Linked DNA regions of Homo sapiens: all the other regions are linked to region 1. The links are contacts of gene promoters, found by promoter capture Hi-C in human tissues and cell types (Jung and others, 2019). All regions are on one chromosome and are shown on one strand. The core of a region is centred on a gene start or on the middle of the fragment in contact, and the rest is flanking DNA. Distances in the headings are between cores, read along the strand shown. Region 1 holds the start of ARL16 (ARF like GTPase 16). Region 2 overlaps SLC38A10 (solute carrier family 38 member 10). Region 3 holds the start of TMEM105 (TMEM105 long non-coding RNA). Region 4 holds the start of ASPSCR1 (ASPSCR1 tether for SLC2A4, UBX domain containing).

What was found. The method cuts DNA at HindIII sites, captures the fragments that hold promoters and counts their contacts. A contact is called where the count stands out against the background at its distance.
Region 2: a fragment that was not itself captured here is called in contact with the fragment with the promoter of ARL16 in region 1 in 1 of the 25 tissues and cell types used here (dorsolateral prefrontal cortex).
Region 3: a contact is called between the fragment with the promoter of TMEM105 here and the fragment with the promoter of ARL16 in region 1, in 1 of the 25 tissues and cell types used here (aorta).
Region 4: the fragment with the promoter of ASPSCR1 here is called in contact with the fragment with the promoter of ARL16 in region 1 in 1 of the 25 tissues and cell types used here (dorsolateral prefrontal cortex).

The regions. Positions count from the first base shown.
Region 1 is chr17:81,682,547-81,687,665 of GRCh38, forward strand. It overlaps ARL16 (ARF like GTPase 16), which reads right to left and starts at 1,251. Exons shown (of 5, transcript NM_001040025.3): 1 at 1,147-1,251; 2 at 990-1,048; 3 at 467-580. The coding sequence starts at 1,207. It overlaps HGS (hepatocyte growth factor-regulated tyrosine kinase substrate), which reads left to right and starts at 1,465. Exons shown (of 22, transcript NM_004712.5): 1 at 1,465-1,557; 2 at 3,059-3,143; 3 at 3,766-3,841; 4 at 4,457-4,549. The coding sequence starts at 1,521. RefSeq lists enhancers at 716-935, 1,153-1,447 and silencers at 1,036-1,115, 1,326-1,385, 1,596-1,695. The HindIII fragment of the contact is 7,981 bases long and covers 1-3,533 here.
Region 2 is chr17:81,267,897-81,273,015 of GRCh38, forward strand. It overlaps SLC38A10 (solute carrier family 38 member 10), which reads right to left. Exons shown (of 16, transcript NM_001037984.3): 9 at 4,620-4,731; 10 at 3,022-3,128. Among named protein-coding and RNA genes, the nearest start is that of SLC38A10, 25 kb to the right of the region's middle. The HindIII fragment of the contact is 5,517 bases long and covers 1-5,013 here.
Region 3 is chr17:81,328,130-81,333,248 of GRCh38, forward strand. TMEM105 (TMEM105 long non-coding RNA) reads right to left here and starts at 2,545. Exons shown (of 3, transcript NR_165247.1): 1 at 2,015-2,545. RefSeq lists enhancers at 314-885, 886-1,457, 1,458-2,027, 3,171-3,741, 3,742-4,312. The HindIII fragment of the contact is 14,660 bases long and covers 1-5,119 here.
Region 4 is chr17:81,973,760-81,978,878 of GRCh38, forward strand. ASPSCR1 (ASPSCR1 tether for SLC2A4, UBX domain containing) reads left to right here and starts at 3,870. Exons shown (of 16, transcript NM_024083.4): 1 at 3,870-3,989. The coding sequence starts at 3,888. It overlaps LOC105371939 (a long non-coding RNA gene), which reads right to left and starts at 3,726. Exons shown (of 2, transcript XR_933953.4): 1 at 3,609-3,726; 2 at 2,209-3,198. It overlaps LOC124904087 (a long non-coding RNA gene), which reads left to right. Exons shown (of 2, transcript XR_007065951.1): 2 at 2,352-2,576. RefSeq lists enhancers at 2,482-3,255, 3,256-4,027 and a silencer at 3,506-4,365. The HindIII fragment of the contact is 10,548 bases long and covers 291-5,119 here.

The sequences.
Region 1 (5,119 bases), core at 1-2,500:
TAGCTTTAAACAAAGCTTTGGGAACAAGCAGAAGCAGAGGGAATCGAGTTTTATGAAGACGACCTGGTGTCACTCGTCTCTGTCCTCATGTGGCCATCAGTTCTCCATACTGGTATCCGCGGCACAGGCCTTATCAAGATGAGACCAACCAGAGGTACGTATAAGTCCAACATAAACACAGACGTACCGGGGAGTGACACAGAGGGCCAAGTCTGTTCTCTGCGGAGCAGCAGCCCTGCCCTCAGCAAGCCCTCTGTGAGCTCCTACCGGGGGCCTGGGAGCGCAAGCACCAGAAACCAGACAGGGTGCCCAGCAGGAAGCAACACTAGCTAAGACCTATTTCCATGAGTAGTATAGTCACTAAATAACCCAAACCCCTTTCTACACACAGCAAGGTTGGGGACTGGACGTCACAGAAATGTAGACACACTTCCCTAAAGGAAGCCCATATAGGATTACAACCCACCAGGAGAGAACGGCAGTTTCCATAGTAACTGGACCAGATGGGGCCCATGCACCCCCCAAGCTCCCGGATGGTGATCTTTCTCTGTGCCACGATGTCAGTAAGATTGGTGCCCACCTATAGGAAAAACCACGATGCAAAAAGAACAATACAACCGCTGTCCCGTTGTGAACTCCTGAAGAGCACCGTGCCCACACCTTACACGGTGGCCTGAACCCCGCAGACCCATTCTCCCTAACGCAGGAACGGCGAGCAGGGACCGACGCCCATCAGTAGCTGGACTCGCTGTGGGGGCGACCAGCCACAGGAAGCCGTTGCGAGGGGAGAGGAAGTGCCCGTGGAGGGCGGCAGGCCCCCTCATCCCGCGCCAATTATCCTCAGCTCGGGCCGTCCCCCGCTCCCGAAGGCTGGCCTTAAGTCACGACCTGACCCGCTGCGCCTCGGCGTGCACTTAGAGGAGCCCGGAGCTCTTCGCCAAGCGCAGAACTGACCCCCCGCAACTCCACCCGCGGGGGCGGACACCTACCGTGGGCCGTGTCGGGGGCGGCTCCCCCAGGTCGCCTTTCCCATCCCGGGAGCTCACCTGTGCGAAGCGGTCAAGGACCCGAGCAGCTAAAGGGTGAGTCCCCGCCCCACTCCGGGTGCCCCCCGCGCCCCGGTCCCGTCCCCGCGCGGAAGGATATCCTGCAGCCGTTTCACCAGCAGCGTCTTCCCGACGCCCGTGGCCCCCAGCAGGAGACACATTCCGTGCTTCGCTCCACCCGGCACCCGTAGCTCGGCGCCGCGGCTCAAGGCCCGCCCACCGGCCACTCTCATTGGATAGTTCTCACCTTCGGACTTCTCATTGGTTCTTAGGGCTCATTGTTCCAAGGGCGCGTCCAATTAGCGCGCAGCGTTAGCGGGAGAGCGGAAGACCCCGCCTCCTCGCGGCTCTAGGGCCGGCGCGGTGACGTGCGCGTGCGCGCACTGGAGGGAAAAGGCGGAAGCGGAAGTCGGGGGGCGCGCCAGCTCGTAGCAGGGGAGCGCCCGCGGCGTCGGGTTTGGGCTGGAGGTCGCCATGGGGCGAGGCAGCGGCACCTTCGAGCGTCTCCTAGGTAACGCGTCCCCACCCGACGGCTCGGCCTTGGTCAGCCCGCAGCCTCCGCCCGGCGCTGAGTCAGCGCGGCCCCGAGGGCCCGAGGGGCGCGGACCGGCCGCCCTGCCCGCCTCTCCCCGGCCCGCTGTCCTCCCGGGTTCGGAGCCGCCGATCCTGGACCCTCGGCGCGGCCGTGGGGTCGGCGTCCGTCGGGCGTTGGCAAATGGGGCTCTGCGAGGGTCCGCGCAGGGCGCCAGGGGCGCTCGGCGACCTCGCTCCTCCGCGGGCCCGGGCATTCGGCCGATTTCCTCTTGACCGACGAGCACCCGGCCGAGTGGGCCACAAGGCCTGAGTCATGAAAGTGGGTGACTCAGTCGGATGTTAGGCTCGCACTTGGGCTTCTGACCCAAAACACTGGGCCTCGAAGGGTGGAGCCGGCAGTGTTCTCTCTGGGACCTTCGAGCTCTCTTGGGGGCTGCGGGTCCCAGACCCACCTTTTGTTCCCACACTGGCTTCGGGAAGTGCCTAATGGTTTAGGAAGGCGTTTTCTCACGTTTTTGGAGGTGAAAGCTGATCCTATCTGAGCCTCCTGGAATTGACGCGTTTTGGGAGGGAAACGAATGTTGATGTGCACGTGCCCAGCAGCACGTGGAAAATGCGTCTAATGTTTGGGGGTAGGAGCTTGGGTGGTCGAATGGGCTGCCCAAGCTTGCCTTTTTGTCAAGTAGGGTTTTCAAGGAGACTTCAAGTGAGACACCTTCCTTGCCAAGGGAACCAGCAAGCAGACTGAGTATCTCAGCCACACAGGTAGTTCAGTGCTTCAGGGATGAATCCAGAGGTTAACTACTGAATCAGTATAGAAAGTGGACGTGGCTTGGCTTGTTAGATCGTTTCTGTATCCGGGAAAGGCGATGTGGGCAGAGCTGGAGCTGCCCCCCCAGAGGGGCCAGTTGTTGGAGACAGCAGTGATGTGGTATGATGACAGGTATGCTGGCGAGTCCTCCTTGGAGCCCCGTTCTGCCCTTATTTCCAAAGCACTTGGCTTGGAGCAAGGGGCCTGGAGTCTACACTGCAGGCCTCTCTAGCCCTTGCCCAAGCTAAGGTCCCATTGAAACCGGGAGCATCTGGGCGAACGGGGACTCCAAGGGACGGGTGATAGGGTTCTTTGTTGAGAAGCAGCCGAGCCTGATGTTTAAGAGTGAATCAGCCTCTGTCTCTGGTGAGCTGTGTGACTCACGGCAGTGCCCTCGCCTCTCTGCTGAGTGTCTTTACCTCGCTCGCGGGTTGTGGGAGGGCTTGGACCAGCACCTGGTGTGCTCTTACGCTGTTTGCTGCTTCCCTGGGGAGGATGGCACTTCCCTGCCCATCAGCACGCTCAGGAGGATTCTGTCATGCTTTTTCATTTGGTCCAAATGTCTAAAGGGGAAGGAGAGAGTCCCCCCCAGCTGCTGCCAAGCTGGGGTGCTGCACGGGGCGTCCAGCAGGATAACCCCTCCCTTTCATGGCATTTTCTCTCTCAGACAAGGCGACCAGCCAGCTCCTGTTGGAGACAGATTGGGAGTCCATTTTGCAGATCTGCGACCTGATCCGCCAAGGGGACACACAGTGAGTTAGCGGGGCCTGTGCCCTGATGCGGAGGAGCAGCCGTGCACTAAGCTGGGCTCGCTTGGTGCCCGTTGGGTCTCCACGACGTAGCTGACCGTGTTAGGCTCTTATGTGGAGAACTGCATGGGCTACATGCTAGGATTTTTTGACATCTTGGAGGATTAAGGGGTTTTCTCTGTACAGCTTGCAGATACCTGGTTATGTTTGTATTTGCTTCGGGGTTCTCAAAGACTAAGATGGCAGACAGACTTTTTTTTTTAAGACGGGGCCTTGCTTTGTCACCCAGGCTGAAGTGCAGTGGCGTGATCTCAGCTCACTGCAGCCCCTGCCTCCCAAGCTCAAACGATCGTCCCACCTCAACCTCCTGAGTAGCTGGGACTACAGGCATTCACCATCACGCCCGGCTGATTTTTTGTATTTTGGTAGAGATGGGTTTTTGCCGTAATGCACAGGCTGGTCTCAGACTCCTGGGCTCAAGCAATCCTCCTGCCTTGGCCTCCCAAAGCACTGGGATTACAGGCGTGAGCCACTGCACCTGGCAGCAGATGAGCTTTTCTCATCTTAGTTGCTGAGACTATTTTTTTCCCGTTTTTCTCTGCTTTTATCAATGTTTCCTTTTCAGAGCAAAATATGCTGTGAATTCCATCAAGAAGAAAGTCAACGACAAGAACCCACACGTCGCCTTGTATGCCCTGGAGGTAAGCAGACCCCCGTGCCTCAGTGGCCCCCAGGGTCCCTACCCCCTACTAGTCACGACAGCATGAGAAGAGTTTGTCCTGTGGCCTTGCCCACCTCCCTGGGCATACATCAAGCAGGAGAGTTTCCACTCAGCCTTGAGTGCCTGTGTGAACAGTGCCACCTAGGAGAGGGTCACGCTGAGGGAGAGACAGGAGATAGGGGAGGGAGTGGGCACCACTTCTTCAGCCGGTCCTGCGTGAGTAAACACCAGAAGGCGGATGTCATTGCTGTGCTTGGCAGTGAGACTTGGCGTCACGGAGCGGTGCTGTGCAGGCTGCTGAGTCTCAGATGTGGGTTCCCCACTGGCCTGACGGGCCTGTTGAAGGGCTGCTGTCCCACCGGGTTCCCCACCGGCCACTGACGGGCCTGTCGAAGGGCTCTGCTGTCCCACCGGGTTCCCCTCCGGCCACTGACGGGCCTGTCGAAGGGCTCTGCTGTCCCACCGGGTTCCCCACCGGCCACTGACGGGCCTGTCGAAGGGCTCTGCTGTCCCACAGGGAGGTGGGTCTGTCCGGGAGGAGGAGGGGCCCTGCCCTGACCACTGGCCCAACCCTTCCCTTCCTGGGCATCTGCAGGTCATGGAATCTGTGGTAAAGAACTGTGGCCAGACAGTTCATGATGAGGTGGCCAACAAGCAGACCATGGAGGAGCTGAAGGACCTGCTGAAGGTGGGTGAGACGGGGGCATGCGGGTGGCCACCCAGGCTGGCACCTTTGCTTCTCCGGGTGTTTACTGGGCACTGATGACAGAACAGCACCAGGTGTGGCGGAAAATGTGCAGGTGCAGATCGGTGGTCCCTGCACTGCGCAAGCTCGCACTCATGAGTCGGAGAGACAGGGCCGTGAGCCCCAATCCAGGGAGGTCAGGGTTTAGCAGGAGCCGGCCTGGGGTGCTGTGTCTGGAGGACCAAGGTGACAGCGACCCTGGGGCCTGGGGGAAGCTTCCGGGAGGCAGGGCTTGGGCACCTGCTGTCTTAGGGAAGGTGAGTAGATGCCACTGGGTGGGCAGGGCAGGTGGTGGCTATCGTGTGTGAGAGTGGCTGTGGTCCGGAGGGCAGGCTGGCCACATCCCACAGGCAGGGGCCTGGGAGGGCTCTGAGCGGGGGCTTGTAAGATCGGATGTGTCTGGCGGGGATAAGAGCTGTTTTGGAGAGCGAGGGCTTCATGCTTTCCTGGGCAGAGGAGGAAAAGCCCTCCAGATCCCCAGGAGATTGTGCCGGGGACATCTGCAGGGATTGT
Region 2 (5,119 bases), core at 1,005-3,504, 410 kb before region 1:
GAGAGCACAACAGCCTAGAGCCTGGGCACACTCACAGGGCTGGGCACCGAGAAGCAAGAATGAGGGCGCTCCAGCAGCCAGAGCTCGAGGGAGAGAAGGAAACCTCGGAGAAGGACGCCACTCCACATTCTGTGTGCAAAAATCTCCCCCAAAGCACTTGCCAGCTATCAGCTATGCAGAGAGGAGCCAGCAAGATGATGAACGCCAAGCAGAAGATGAACGCCAAGCAGAAGATTCACCATTTGAGGGTGTCACTGCCCAGCTGAGACCCCAGAAGGGCTGTACCCTAGGAACAAGGCCAACTGAAAACACATTTGCCTCAATGGGACACAGGCCTTCTGCCTATCCCCTGTATGATGGATGAATGACAATGTCACCCAGAACTTCTACGATTTCTCAAACACAACATCTGCAAAATACCAGGCACACTAGAAAACAAGACCCCAGGACAAAAAAACAAGAAGCCACAAAGAATCAATATCAATACTTTTTTCTTTTTCTTCTTCTTTTTTTTCTTTTTTTTTTGAGACGGAGTCTTTTGCTCTGTTGCCCAGGCTGGAGTGCAGTGGTGCTATCTCGGCTCACTGCAACCTCCACCTCCCGGGTTCAAGTGATTCTCCTGCCTCAGCCTCCCAAAGTGCTGGGATTACAGGAGTGAGCCACCATGCCTGGCTCAATAATTACTATTTGAAACAACAATAACAATGTCTTGTGGAGTTTTAAATAAGGGTTGATATCAACTGCCTAGTATAATCATTAGAAGAATAGAAATGTACCAACAAGCCAAAAAAAGAGTAAATATTTAAAATGTTTGATTGATCCAAAGAAAGTAAAAGCAAAAACAGAAAAAGGACATATGAGACAAATAATAGGACATAAGTTGAAAGTTTTCCCTCAAAAATCAGTTATTATATTAACTGTAAATAGTCTTAAATACTCCCATTCACAGACTGAATAAGAACAAGACAAAAGTCAACTGCATGCTGTTATAAGAGACATACCATGAATATAATGGACTAGAGAAATCAAAAGAAAAGGGATGAAACAAGCTATCCTGTGCAAATACAAACCCAAAGCAGAACTAAGTTAGCTACAAAGCCAACTTTAAGGAGAAAAGTATTTCCAATGATAAAAAGGAGTATTTAACACGATAAAAGACAATTCAACAAGGAGATATAACCAACTTCAATCTGTCTGCTCCTAATAACATGGCTTCAAACTAAAAAGCAAAAAGTGATGGAACTAAAAGGAAAAATAAACAAATCTGCAGTTACAGTAGGAATTATCATACCTTTCTCACAACTCATAAACAAGATGATTAAAAAATCCATAAGGGGCTGGGTGTAGTGGCTCACGTCTATAATCCCAGCACTTTGGGAGGCTGAGGCGGGTGGATTATTTGAGGTCAGGATTTGAGACCAGCCTGACCAACATGGTAAAACCCTGTCTCTACTAAAAGTACAAAAATTAGCTGGGTGTGGTGGCACACACCTGGAATCCCAGCTACTCAGGAGGCTGAGGCAGGAGAATTGCTTGAACCCAGGAGGCAGAAGTTGCAGTGGACCTGAGCCAAGATGCTGAAGAAGTGGCTGACACACGTGGACGTGTATTCTAATGTACACTGTAAGAATCTATTTACCGCAACTTGAAGACAAGGCAAGATCATTCCAGAATGCCGGAGGACCTTTGGGGTGGGGGTGGATGTCAGTGAGGCATCCATAGGGAGCTCTGGGGTGCCGGGATGTCCTATGTCTGCTCTGGATGGTGGTTCCACGTGGTTCACTTTGTAAAAACTTATCAGGTTGAGGCCGGGCGCATTGGCTCACACCTGTAATCACAGCACTTTGGGAGGTGGAGGCGGGTGGATCACCTGAGGTCAAGAGTTCAAGACCAGCGTGACCAACACGGAGAAACCCCGTCTCACTAAAAATACAAAATTAGCCCGGCGTGGTGGCTACTCAGGAGGCTGAGGCAGGAGAATCACTTGAACCTGGGAGGCGGAGGTTGCAGTAAGCCGAGACTGCGCCACTGCACCCCAGCTTGGGCAACAAGAGTGAAACTCTGTCTCAAAAGAAAAAAAAAATTATCAATATATTCCAGTAAGAAAAAGCTCAACAACTCCATAAAAAGTGAGCAAAGAACACAAGCAGTTCACAGAAAAAGAAACGCAAGTGGCTTCTAAACCCATGAAAAGACACTCAAGTTCCCGCCAGAGAGGCCAAGAATGATGAAGCCTGGAAGGTCCTGGGTGCAGGGACAGAGGCCTTGAGCCTGGCTGGGAGTGACGCTGCAGGCACTTTGGGTAGAGCCACCACATTTACAGATGCTCACACCCCTGACACAGGATTCCATTTCTAGAAGGCTTCCTACAGACGCGTGCTCAAATACGTCGACATGCTCATGAACACAGATATTCATCGCGATTCTGTCTGCAATAGCAAGACTGGAGAGGTGAGTCCTTCGGAGACTGGGATTATGGAATCTTCCTACCACGGAACCCATGAAACGGCTAAAAATAGCGAGGCAGCTCTGTGCCCACGGCTGTGGAGCAACCTGACCTGCACAGGGTTTTGAGCAAAAGCAGCAGGAAGCTGTGTTACAGTTAAAGAAAAACCCACAAGCACGCACATCTCCGTGGGAGGGTCGCACCAGGAACAACGGTGGGTGGTGGCCTCAGGGGTGGGCGGCTGGGGAGGGGACTCAGAGGTGGCAGCAGGTCCATGGGCAATCAGGCATCGCAGAAACACCATGGGGAAAGCGCTTACGACTCAGCTAAGTCGGCTCTCAGGAAAACCCGATGCACAGCTTGAGCAGCTTAGTGTGGCCCTGCTGGGCAAAGACCGTGCGTCCTGGTGAACCCAGGGTTCCCCAGGCTGACTGGACCAAGTCCCTTTTGTGGGTTTTAAGTTTCTTGATAGAACCCATCTGAAAACGCTGAACCAGGGGCTTCCTCCCGCCTCCACCTCTCCCCAGCCCAGACCCATCAGCCCTCGTCCAGGCCACCCCACGAGCAGCACGCACCTGGGAGGAAAGTGCGTTCTTGTGGATTTTCTTGTAGATCAGCGCCGGGCAGATGAAGCAGATGAGGCTTCCCATGGTCGCTCCTGTGAGGCCCAGGATGGTCTCCACTAGGATGGAGAAGTGACAGGAAGGGATGAGTGGGGAAGGGCTCTGGGAAGGAGGGGACCTGAGCTTTTGCCCTGCACACGGGTGAGCAAGCCAGCATTGAAGGAAATGCCGTCTAGGCGTGAGCCGGGAGCAGAGACGCCCTCTGTGCCCAGAAAGCCTGACAACCGCGGCTGATTCCTCCAACAGTGCATTTAGGCCCCGGGGTGAATTCTCTGATGGTTCATCTTTAAAGAGTCAGACACTAGGGACCTCCTGCCGAAACCAGATGCTGGCTGCGCACGGCACGGCTCCTGCGCCGCCTCTCCTGCCTGCTGCTCCATGAGTGGCCCTAGGAAGGCAGGACCTATCCTAGGGCAGGTGTAGAGGCCAGGGCCTGGCGGGTGCTGCCAGGCTGCAGCCCCTGCCAGGAGCCCAGACAGATCGCCTCTAGGGCTGTTCCCTGGGGAGAGTGCGTGCGAGTTCCCCTGTGATGTCATCCTCTGATGACAACGAGCTCTGTCTTGTCTGCTAGGGAGTGGGTGCATTTGGGTAACATAAATATGTTCAGAGCCTTCAACGCTTCCCTTGGTAATGCATCACCAAAATCAGAAGTCAAAAGAATCAACAGGACAGCATGCGCTGTTCTAGAATAGTTGGTTCTACAAATTGAGCCTGTGTCCCGGCACTGCAGTCTCTCTCTGCCCAGGTGTCAATGGGTGCCTGCTGTTCCATCAAGCTGACAGATTTTTTTTTTTTTTTTTTTTTTGGCTGGAGTGTAGTGGAGCGATCTCAGCTCACTGCAAGCTTCGCCTCCCAGGTTCACGCCATTCTCCTGCCTCAGCCTCCCAAGTAGCTGGGACTACAGGCACCCGCCACCACGCCCGGCTAATTTTTTTGTATTTTTAGTAGAGACGGGGTTTCACCGTGTTAGCCAGGATGGTTTCGATCTCCTGACCTCGTGATCCGCCCGCCTCGGCCTCCCAAACTGCGGGGATTACAGGCGTGAGCCACTGCGCCCAGCAAGCTGCCAGATTTTTTTTTTTTTGAGACGAAGTTTCTCTCTTGTTGCCCAGCCTGGAGTGCAATGGCGCAATCTTGGCTCACTGCAAACTCCTCCTCCCGGGTTCAAGTGATTCTTTTGCCTCAGCCTCCCAAGTAGCTAGGATTACAGGCATGCACCATGACGCCCTGCTAATTTTGTATTTTTAGTAGAGACGGGGTTTCTCCACATTGGTCAGGCTGGTCTTGAACTCCCAACCTCAGGTGATCCACCCACCTCAACCTCCCAAAGTGCTGGGATTACAGGTGTGAGCCACCGCACCTGGCTCAAGTTGCCAGATTTTATCCCCTGCCTTTCTCTGTGGGCCAGAGAAAAACTGACAAAGTCTCTAGACTTTTTTAAGAGACCAGAGAAGATGGTCTCTGTGCAGGTCTCGTAACTGTGCAGGTCTTGGTTGATGCCGAAGCCCCGGGTCCCACTCCCCGGCAACAGGGCAGCCCTCCCGCCTTACCGTTGGGGATAAGGATGCCACCAACCATGGTTCCAAACACCACAGAGAGGGTAAGTGCTTTAAACCGGAGAGGGGGCATGTAGCCCCCTGCTGCAAAGGTGCCATCTTTTTGCTGTACAAAAGAAAAACAAAAGGTTTTGAAATGACTGATTTCCTCCACCACTCTCCTAGAAAGCAAAGCCTGAAAGGGCTCTGCCAGGCACACCAGGCACATCTCCACGTGAGGCCGGCCGCGCACTCACCTGGCAGGTGAGCCTGACCAGCACAATCAGATCTGGCTGAGCAACTTAAACGGGAACCTGCAGCATGCCAGGAAGGCACGAGGGCTTCTCACCCCAGGCACAGACCGTACATTTTACAACTTCCTTTTGAAATGTGAGTATCGAGTCCTTCCGTTTTCCTTTTTGCTTTTAGAGCAATACCACGAGAGTTTTTTAAGTGCCAGGAAGTATGGAGAGCAAAACACAGGCTGCACAGCGCCGCTCCTGACAAATGCCCCA
Region 3 (5,119 bases), core at 1,295-3,794, 350 kb before region 1:
GCTGCAGGATCTGAGCAGGAGGCCTCCTCACTCTGCGCCTCAGTTTCCTCATCTTTATCTGGGGACGGAGCAGCCTCTACCTCTCAGAGCTAGTTGCGATCATGGTGGCAGCTGAGGCCCAGCCCTGGTATGCAGTGAGGGTTCAACTGAGCCAGCCCCCACTCGCCACAGGCTTGCCTGGGGAAGACAGGTGCATCAGCCCCGGGGTCCATTTCGCAGTGGGGCTGATCCCAGCCCACCCTCACCCGCCCGGGAGCCTCGCCCTTCACCCCATGCATCTTCTCCCCTGAATCACCCCCAGGGTCTCCAGGGCAGGAGCAGGGCTGGCAAGGGCAGGGCTCACAGCCCCATAGGGAGGACACAGTGCCCGCAAGAGGGACTGGGCAAGAGGTGGACAGGCAGGGGGTGGGGGCATTCTGTGTGCCCCAGAGCCTGAGTTCGCAGGCTCTCAGCAGCCCGTGCTGGGCAGCAGTGTGGGCGTCTCTCCCGCAGGGCACCCTCTGCACTTTCCTGCAGACCTGCAGCAGCCCTTTCCTGAGGGACACCTGGCTCCGGGCCCAGGGTGGGGGCGGGGCCTCGCGTGTCTCCCCCTTGATTTGTAAGAGTCCAGGGCTGTCGGCCATGGCCACACTGAGCACCCCTGGGAGCCAAGGCAGCTTAAGGACAAGGTGTGTATGAGGACGGCGGGGCCCAGGGAGGAGAGGCTAGCCCAGGGCTACCCGGGTCCCCGGAGTAGGGGCAGGGGACTTGAAAATGAGCCCCCAAGGGGCTCTGATGGGGGCAATTCCAGGAGAGGCGTGGGCAGGTGTGGGGCTGGAGAGAGGCCTGTCCTTTTTCCCTTGCCCTGCACACTGTCTGCAGGGTGGCAGACCCAGGCTGCCTGGCGAGGCTGCTTCTGGAGGCCTGAGGAAGGCTGGGCTGAGGACTCCGCCTCTCCTCAAAGCCACAGCCTCCCTGCTCTGGGGCTACATGTCGGGAAAATCCCTGCCTGGGTTACCCCAGCTGGGGACTCAAGCTCTCTTTGGACCCTACAGAAAGAGCTGGCCAGCCCCCAGGCCAGAAGGGCCGTCCGTGACCCACAGATGGCCCCAACACACTGTAAAACACGCATGATTTATTTTAGTGTGTGTTAGAAAAATAAAGCCAACACATCAAGCCTGCAATTTCGCAGATACTAACACTTCGGACCAGGAAAAAAGAAGCCCATGACATGGCACAGCGCTGTGGAGCGAGCGAGATCTGGGATGCGTAGGCCTGGACGGCTGAGGCTTGGAAACCCCTCCCCTCCCCAAACTTTCCCACCATGCAGGGGCCCAGCAGGCCCTCAGCCCACTCACCCCGCCAGAGGAGGGAGGAGGGAGGAGGGTCCGGGCCAGGTGGGAGCTTCTCCCCGGAGGCCTGAGGCAGCTTCCCTCCTCTCCCAGGAAGGGGCTGGCCCAGGCCCAGCTAGGATGCTCCCAGCCCAGCTCCTACCCGCCGGGTCTTTCCCGTTTGTCAGGCAGGCCGGCAGGCTGGGCTGGTGACTCATGACTGGCTGGGCCATCTGCCCTGCACCCCTGCCCCGGGCGAAGTGAGAAACCTGACCGGGCTCCAGCACAGACAGGAAACCCCACCCCAGGGCCTGCAGTGGGACAGGTGTGGCCGCCCTCCACCCCCACACAGGCCTCGGGGAGGGTGTCTGAGGCCGGCCTGGCCCTCTCTGCAGCACTGAAACACCAGCTGCCTCTCCCCAGCCCGGAACTGGGGATCCAGTGTCCTCCGCACTGACCCCAGGCTCTGCTCTCCCTGGGAAGCACCCGCTTTGACAGTGGGGCCAAGGACTGGGGTTCCCACCCTCCTCTGCCCAGTGGACTTTGTGGCCCCAGGCAGGTGGCATCAGCTCTCTGGGCCTAAGCTTCTCATCTCTGCAGGGTTCATCAGCTCAACAAGCATTTGTGGGTTCCTGAGACCTGAAGGCTCCACTCCCCCACCTAAGCACACAACAGTCCAGGCACCACCCACATCTCCCTCTTACCTGGAGCAGAGGGGCGGGTGTTCGGAGCCTTGGGGCCCAGGGTCATTTGCACTGGAGGGGGCCAGGAACGCTCCCAGGAGTGTGGCAGTCCCTTCCTAGGGGGCCCCTCCTGGAGCAGCTGCCTTGAGAGCCCAGCCTACAGCAGAGCCTGGTGGGGTGGCCGGGCTACTGCTACCTGGCTTCACTGCTTTCTTCTGCCATTCCTCCCAGGCTACCCAGGAGGACGAGAGGGGCAGGGTACTGGCGGCAGCAAGAGAGAACCCGCCCAGGAGGGCCCAGCACGGGAACTCCAGCCTCCAGAGCCAGCAGAGCCACGGGAACAGGAGTTCCTCCTCACAGAGGAGGCGCTGTTGGAGGGCCAGGAGCAAACTCCCAGCAGAGCAAAATGCAGAGGTGACCAGCCCAGGGCACACCAGCCACTGAAAAACCCAACAGTGGGGGCTGCCGTGGGGATCCAGGGTTGGGGGACTCTCAGACGGCCCCCCAGGCTTGTCCCCATGCGTATTCTTTGAGCTGATGGGGACGCAGTGTTCACAGTCCTGACAGGAGGCAGGCGTGACCCCAGTCGGGGAGTGGACTTGGCCCTCTTCACACCCCCAGGGCAGAAAGCCCTGTTCAGAGGTACCAGGGAGCAGGCACAGGCCAGGGTCCGAATTCGTAACAAGCATCCGGGACTCCACATGACGCAGGTCTGAGAATCGATCCCGGGTTCCAGCCCAGCCATCATTTTCAGAGAATACGGGCCCTGTCCCGAGCCGCCAGCCATTGCCAATGGCTGCCCGGAGGAAGGGAGGAAGGGGTGCCCCCAGCTTGTGGAACCAACAAGGGCTTAATGGTAGGGCACGCCCAGGGGCAGACGCCAAGAAAGGAGAGGAGGGGGCGGGGGCTCCGGCCAGGGAAGCCGTGTCCTCTGCACCAGGCAGAACAGGGGGCTGGGCCGCCCTCAGCCTGGATCTGGCCAGGGCTGGGATGCCAGCTCTGAGAACAGGGCCCAGCCCTCACCTGCTTGGTTTGCCTCTTGCCAGGGGAAGGGGCTCAGGAAGGTTTCTGAGCTGCCCCATGCCCCTGCCTGGAGTTCCTGACCCTCGGGGGAAGCTGAGGCTACAGAGAGCACGAAGTGCAAAAGGCCTGGTGGTTGGACCCAGAGCCCCTGTCCCTGGGTCCCCGCTCCTCCCCACCACCCCGTCCCAGCTCTCCCACGCTCCCACGAGGCCACATCATCTTCTGCTCCTGCTGAGTTCCCCTTCACGCATATGAAAAGCAAATTACAGGAGGGAGAAGGCAAACCCGGGGTGAACGGGGGCCTCCTGGGACTCCTTGGACCCCCGGGAGAGCCTGTGAGGGCTTCTATGGGCCGACTGGGATCTCAGGAGCAAAATAGGGGCCCCTAGCCCACAGCGGAGGGCGACTCTAATCAGCAGAGATCGCCCAGCATGCCTTATCCTCAGCAGCTCAGGGCCACCTGTGGGGCAGGGGGAGGGGGCCTGGCCAGCTGGGTCGGCCGCCCCCGGCAAAGCCAGGGGACGCCAGGAGCGGAGCTGTGTGGTGCAGAGCAACTGTGTCCCAGGGGAGGGGGGGTCTGTCTCCGCTCCTCCCAGCTGCAGGCCCTGGGCAGCCGCAACCTCTCAGAGCCTGCCTGCCCCTCTCCTGAGGTCTGGATTTTGCCAGCACAGAGCAGGGACCTCAGCAATATGCCCAGCCTGGCGCAGGCCCAGGGCAGGCCCTCTATCCGCAGGGCATCCTCTGGTCTACAAGTTCTGTGACGACGTGGCTGGCACCAGGGTCTGAGGGCTTTGATGCTGGGGAACGTCCTTGCGCCTCTGCAGTAGATGTGAAAGTCTGTGGAGCCCGGGGACCTGGAGCAGGTGGCCTGGGTGGGGCTGCTGCCTTCTGGGCCAGGACCAGATTCCACTCCCTGGCTGGACAGCCCTGGGCACAGCGTTTAAACACCCAACACTTCAACTCTGCTCTGTGAAACGGGGATGATTCTAACAGTGCTGGATCACGGCATGGTTGGGAGGCTTGGGTGAGGTCATGTGTTCCATGATCCTGTCCACACGAAGGTCATGCAGCCTTGGGGGGCACTGGAGCGGCAGGTGTGGTTTTGGGGACCTGCCACGGGCCACAGCCCTAGACCAAGCCGGACCATCGGGACTCTTTTCCTGGAATTTGAATGCTGAGCCGAGGGACACTGGGCTTGTGCTGGGGCCACTCCCGAGCCGCTGCTGTTGGGGCCTGAACAGCGCCTTCCCCCTGCCCTCCCTGCTGCAAGCTCCAACCAAATACCTGCTCCCGGCTTCAGTTAGTCAGAGTCCACTTCTGGCACCTGCAGTCAAATTTATTGATTGATTGATTTGAGAGAGTCTTGCTCTGTTGCCCAGGCTGCAGGGCAGTGGTGAGAATAAGGCTCACTGCAGCTTCGACCTCCTGGACTCAAGCGATCCTCGGCTTCCCAAGTAGCTGGGTCTACAGGCACACACCACCACGCCTGGCTAATTTTTGTGTTTTTTGCAGAGATGGGGTCTCACTATGTTGTCCAGCCTGGGCTCAAGCAATCCTCCTGCCCTGGCTTCCCAAAGTGCTAGAATTACAGGCATGAACCACCATGCCAGCCGAAAGTGTCTCTGCACATCTGCACAAATAAAATGTATTTCTGTACGTACACTGATTTGTACCCAGAAGCCCTTTTAAAAAATATTGTGTCACCTTGGCTTCCTCTCTTACTTCTTGCTCCCCCTTTATGTAAAACTGCTGAATCTTTTGAGTGTCAGTTGCAGACACCTTGACACTTCACCCTAAATACTGTAGCATCAAATGTCTAAGAACACCTGCCTGCCTCCAGCAGCACGCCTGGGGAAACGCAGTGCCACACAGAACGATGCACGGCCCCGTGGCCCCGCCTGCTGTGTGTAAACTTCCCAGTCAGCTCCACGGCCCGCCAGAGCAGTCCCACCCCAAGCCTCGTTCAGGATCCTATCCAGGGTCTCCCGTTAGCCTCCTCTCATCTATAACACGCACCGCACCCTTTTGCCTTTTTAAAAACATTGCCCTTTTCTGAGCATCCGGAGAGGTGATTCCGAGAATGCCTCCGGATCCGACTCCCCT
Region 4 (5,119 bases), core at 2,620-5,119, 290 kb after region 1:
GCAGGAAAGATGTCCACACTTGGACAATTAACTGTGGATTAACTCAGAGTATGATACCAACATTAGATTTCCCAATTTTGTATGAAATTATGGTGGCTATATAAGAGACTGGCCTTATTTTATTTATTTATTTTTTTGAGACTGAGTCTCACTCTGTCGCCAAGGCTGGAGTGCAATGGCGTGATCTTGGCTCACTGTAACCTCCACCTCCCACAATCAAGCAATTCTCCCACCTCAGCCTCCCAAGTAGCTGGAATTACAGGCACCTGCCATCACGCCCAGCTACTTTTTGTATTTTTTGTAGAGATAGGGTTTCACCATGTTGGCCAGGCTGGTTTTGAACTCCTGACCTCAGGTGATCCACCCGCCTTGGTCTCCCAAAATGCTGGGATTACAGGCGTGAGCCACTGCACCTGGTTGAGACTGGCCTTATTCTTAGGAAAGAGAAAAACTGAAGTATTTAGTGGCGAAGGTGCTCAATGTCTTTACTGCAGCCTCGACCTCCTGGGCTCAAGTGATCCTCCTGCCTCAATCTCTCAAATCGCTGGGACTACAGGGACATGCCACCATGCCTAGCTAACCTTTGTATTTTTTGTAGAGCTGGGGTCTCACTATGTTGCCTAGGGTGGTCTCAAACTCCTAGGCTCAAATGATCCTCCTACTTTGGCCTCCCAAAGTGCTGGGATTATAGGTGTAAGCCACTGTGCCTGGCCAGAAAAAGTTTTTACATGTATATGGAGAGAGAGAAAGAGAATATGATAAAACAAATGGGGTGACATGTAAACACTGATTTATCTGGCTAAAAGATATACAGGAGGCTGGGCGTGGTGGCTCACACCTGTAATCCCAGCACTTTGGGAGGCTGAGGCGGGTGGATCACGAGGTCAGGAGATTGAGACCATCCTGGCTAACATGGTGAAACCCCATGTCTACTAAAAATACAAAAAATTAGCCGGGCATGGTGGCAGGTGCCTGTAGTCCCAGCTACTCGGGAGGCTGAGGCAGGAGAATGATGTGAACCCGGGAGGCGGAGCTTGCAGTGAGCCGAGATTGCACCACTGCACTCCAGCCTGGGCAACAGAGCGAGACTCCGTCTCAAAAAACAAAACAAAACAAAACAACAACTAGCTGGGTGTGGTGCTGCACACCTGTAGTCCCAGCTACTCGGGAGGCTGAGGCAGAAGAATCGCTTGAACCCGGGAGGCAGAGGTTGCAGTGAGCTGAGATTTCGCCACTGCACTCCAGCCTGGCGACAGAGGGAGACTCCATCTCCAAAAAAAAAAAAAAAAAAAAAAGATATACAGCAGGAATTCTTGCTTTTGCAAACTTTTCTTCTCTTTCTTCCTTCCTCCTCCCTCTTCTTCTTTCTTCTCCTTCTCCTTTTTTGAGACGGTATCGTACTACGTTGCTCGGGCTGGGGTGCAGTAGTTATTCATAGGCATGAATAGTGGTTCACTAAGGCTGGAACTTAAGTAATTCTCCTGCCTCGGCCACCGGAGTAGCTAAGACTACAGGTGTGAGCCACCTTGCTCGGCTAAGTTTGAAATAATATCAGGATAAAAGATCATCCCTCCTATCAAAAAAAGCATAGGAGCCAGCTTAAAGGAGGTCTCACTGGCCAAATTCGGACCAATTTGAGCATCAAAAAGAATGCTGACTGAATGAAAAAAATACATGAATTCATATTAATAAATATATATATTTCAAGATGGGGTTTCACTCTTGTCGCCCAGGCTGGAGTGCAATGGTGCGATCTTGGCTCGTTGCAACCTCCATCTCCCAGGTTCAAGTGATTCTCCTACCTCAGTGTCCCGAATAGCTGGGATTACAGGCACGCACCGCCATGCCCGGCTAATTTTTGTACTTTTTTTTTAAGTAGAGACAGGATTTCACCATGTTGGCCAAGATGGTCTCAATCTCTTGACCTTGTGATCTGCCCAACTCAGCCTCCCAAAGTGCTGGGATTACAGGCGTGAGCCACCGCGCCTGGCCATATTTAATTTTTTTTTTTTTTTTTTTTTTGAGACAGAGTCTTGCTCCGTCTCCCAGGCTGGAGTACAGTGGCGTGATCTCAGCTCACTGCGAGCTCTGCCTCCCGGATTCACGCCATTCTCCTGCCTCAGCCTCCCAAATATTTAATAACTTTTTAAAGAAGGGGAAGCTTGACCGAAAGTGACTATAAATGTAGAAGAAACAATAAACTTGGGAAGCCATGATTTTGCAGCTTTACGGTTTAACACTGAATCTACTCATTAACTGATGCTAAAACTGTTGGGCAAATGGTTATTGGGAAAACTTGATGCTTGTGGTCTCAGAGAATGACCTCACGCATGCCTTAATTACTCCACAAGGAGCCACGGACCTTGACCATGGAGGAATTCAGCAGACCCAAAGCTGACCAAGTGGTTCAACTTCACGTCCTCACTCATGGCCACGCTGATGTCCTGCACCTCCTGCTGACTTGTCACCTCCCTTCATCATTGCCCCAAACGTTTAACCAAGGATCCAGACTGTGGGACAGTCTAAGGAAAATAGGAACAGACTCTTCAAAAACGCCACTAAAGAATTAAAACCCACCAGGTGATGTGTGGCTCAGTAAGGTTCTGAGGTTGCACAGAGCATGGGACTGGCTGGCTGGATGGGAGGGCTATGGCTAGCCTGGGGCTTTCCCCAGGTTTCTCCAATGTACATAGATGTCCGTGTTTGTCAGCATACAGGTGTGTGTGGGTGACATGGATATGTCATCGACAGGAAGGCACAACAGCACCCATGCAGAGATGTCCTTAGACTCAGCAATGACTGCCGGGTGCGGTGGCTCACGTGTGTAATCCCAGCCCTGTGGGAGGATTGACTGATAACTGCACCAGTTCCCCCTTCCACAGGCTACTGGGCAGCTGAGCCCTAGCCAGGAGTCCGCAGAGACAGGCAGGCACATGGAGAGAGGAGTGCCAAGGCCCGGCTGAGCCATGGAGGTGGGGGGCGGGGCGGAACACGTGCGAGTGCTGTCCATGAGTGGCCCAGGTGCTGGGAGCTAAGCACATTCGACGGCTGCGAGTCAGGAGGGCAGCTCCTTCTGGAAGCCTGGAGCTGGTGAGGCCAGGTGCTTTCCCTGCTGCGGTGGCTGGCGATGGGAGTGTTTCCTGAGGCTGCCACCAAGCCCCTCCTCAGCATGGGTTGGTGCGGGAAGTCCTTGAGTGCCTGTGGGTCGGCAGGAGCTCCGGTGAGACTCAAGTTCGCTCACCCCACGGTTCTGAAACCGGTCTCCCGCCTTTCCTACCCTCAGGTTTAGGGACCGTCGCGGCAGCCCTAGGGCTGCCAGATTCTGCACTCCCATTTTAGGATGAAAGAAATCAGGTCTAGACTGAGGGCCACGAGTCCCAACACCCAGGGAGGATCCGTACAGGGGCGGGGGGACTGCCCCAAACCATAAGGTCAGGAGGTGGACGCTGACCACAGGGACAGGTGGGCAGGGAAGAGGCTCAGCTGCTGGAGTGGAGGAAGCCGGGAGGGTCGGGGGAGAGCAGGGCACCGAGCTGGGGACGTGTCAGGGACGAAGCGAGGGTGGGCGAGCGCGGACCGCTGGGACCCCGGGGCTCAGTGCCGCTCACCGGGGGTGACCGCGCGCCCAGCCCCGGCCCAGCCTGGCCCCGGCGAGCCCATCCAAGCCGCGCTTCCCGGAGGCAGAGGACGACCGCGCTTTCCGGGTCTGGCGCGGGCTTTGGCGGCCCAAGGGCGGGGCCGGGGCGCCGTGGGTGGGGAAAGGGCGGGGCCTGGCAGGACCCGGAAGTGCGCTGCGGCCCCGCCCCCTGGCCGCGTGGCTGCGCGTCCTGGCTGTTGCCGATAAAGTTGTTTGACGCCGGCCCGGCGGCGGGTCACGTGAGCGGAAAATGGCGGCCCCGGCAGGCGGCGGAGGCTCCGCGGTGTCGGTGCTGGCCCCGAACGGCCGGCGCCACACGGTGAAGGTGACGCCGAGCACCGTGCTGCTTCAGGTGCGGCCGCCCGCCCGGGGCGGACGGGTAGGCGGGCGGGGGGCGCTGCGCCGAGGCCCCGCCCATTGCGGTCGGCGTCCCGGTGTTCGGGGGCGGGGCCTCGGCGGCCAATGAGCGGCCTCCTGAGCGGCGGCCCCGCCCCCTGCTCGCCGTCACCTGCGCTTCCGCTGGGGTCCCGGGGGTCCCGGGGGTCCCGAGTGGGGGCGGGGCGGTGGCGAGCCTTCCCAGGGGTGAGGTAGAACGGCGCCGCGTGTCACCCGCATCGAGTACTCGGCGCCCGGCCGAGCCCAGCTCGCGAGGGCGCCGGGAAGAGGGAGGAGTGGAGCCCTAGACCCGCGTTCCCATTCCGGGGCGTCCCCCGGAGCGGGAGCCCGGGTTGCGCGGTGGCAGATGTCCCGGCCGTGGGGCCTGGAAGCGATTTTTGCCGAGTCACTCACTGCACTTTTACTTGGGCACCTTGTGACCGCGAATCAATTAAATGTAAAAGTATTGGCTGGGCGCGGTGGCTCACGCCTGTAAATCCCAGCACTGTGGGATGCCGAGGCGGGTGGATCACGAGGTCAAGAGATCAAGACCATCCTGGCTAAAACGGTGAAACCCCGTCTGTACTAAAAAAATACAAAAAAATTTAGCCGGGCGTGGTGGCGGGCGCCTGTAGTCCCAGCTACTCGGGAGGCTGAGGCAGGAGAATGGCGTGAACCTGGGAGGCAGAGCTTGCAGTGAGCCGAGATCGCGCTACTGCACTCCAGCCTGGGAGACAGAGCGAGACTCCATATCAAAAAAAAAAAAAAAAAGTATTTATTGAGCCTCTGCTGCGTGGGGGACCGTGAGGATCCGAAGGTGCACACGACTCGGAGTTTGCGGGAGCAGCCCACGGCGTGGGGTCCCCAGGCCTGGGCAGGTGGAGGGCGCAGCCAGGAGGCTGTTGGTGCCAGGCGTGCAGAGTGCGGAAGTGGGGCGCTCCCGCAGAGGCTGCGCGGGACCCCTTGGTGCAAGGCCACGGCTTTGGCTTTTTATGGAGAAGAGGGGCGGAGGCGGTGCAGGCAGTGGCAGCAGGTGCACAGAACCGTGCCAGAGCCAGGGGGTAGCTTGTGCTAGGCAAGTTTAAGGCAGGTTGCAGAACTACAGGG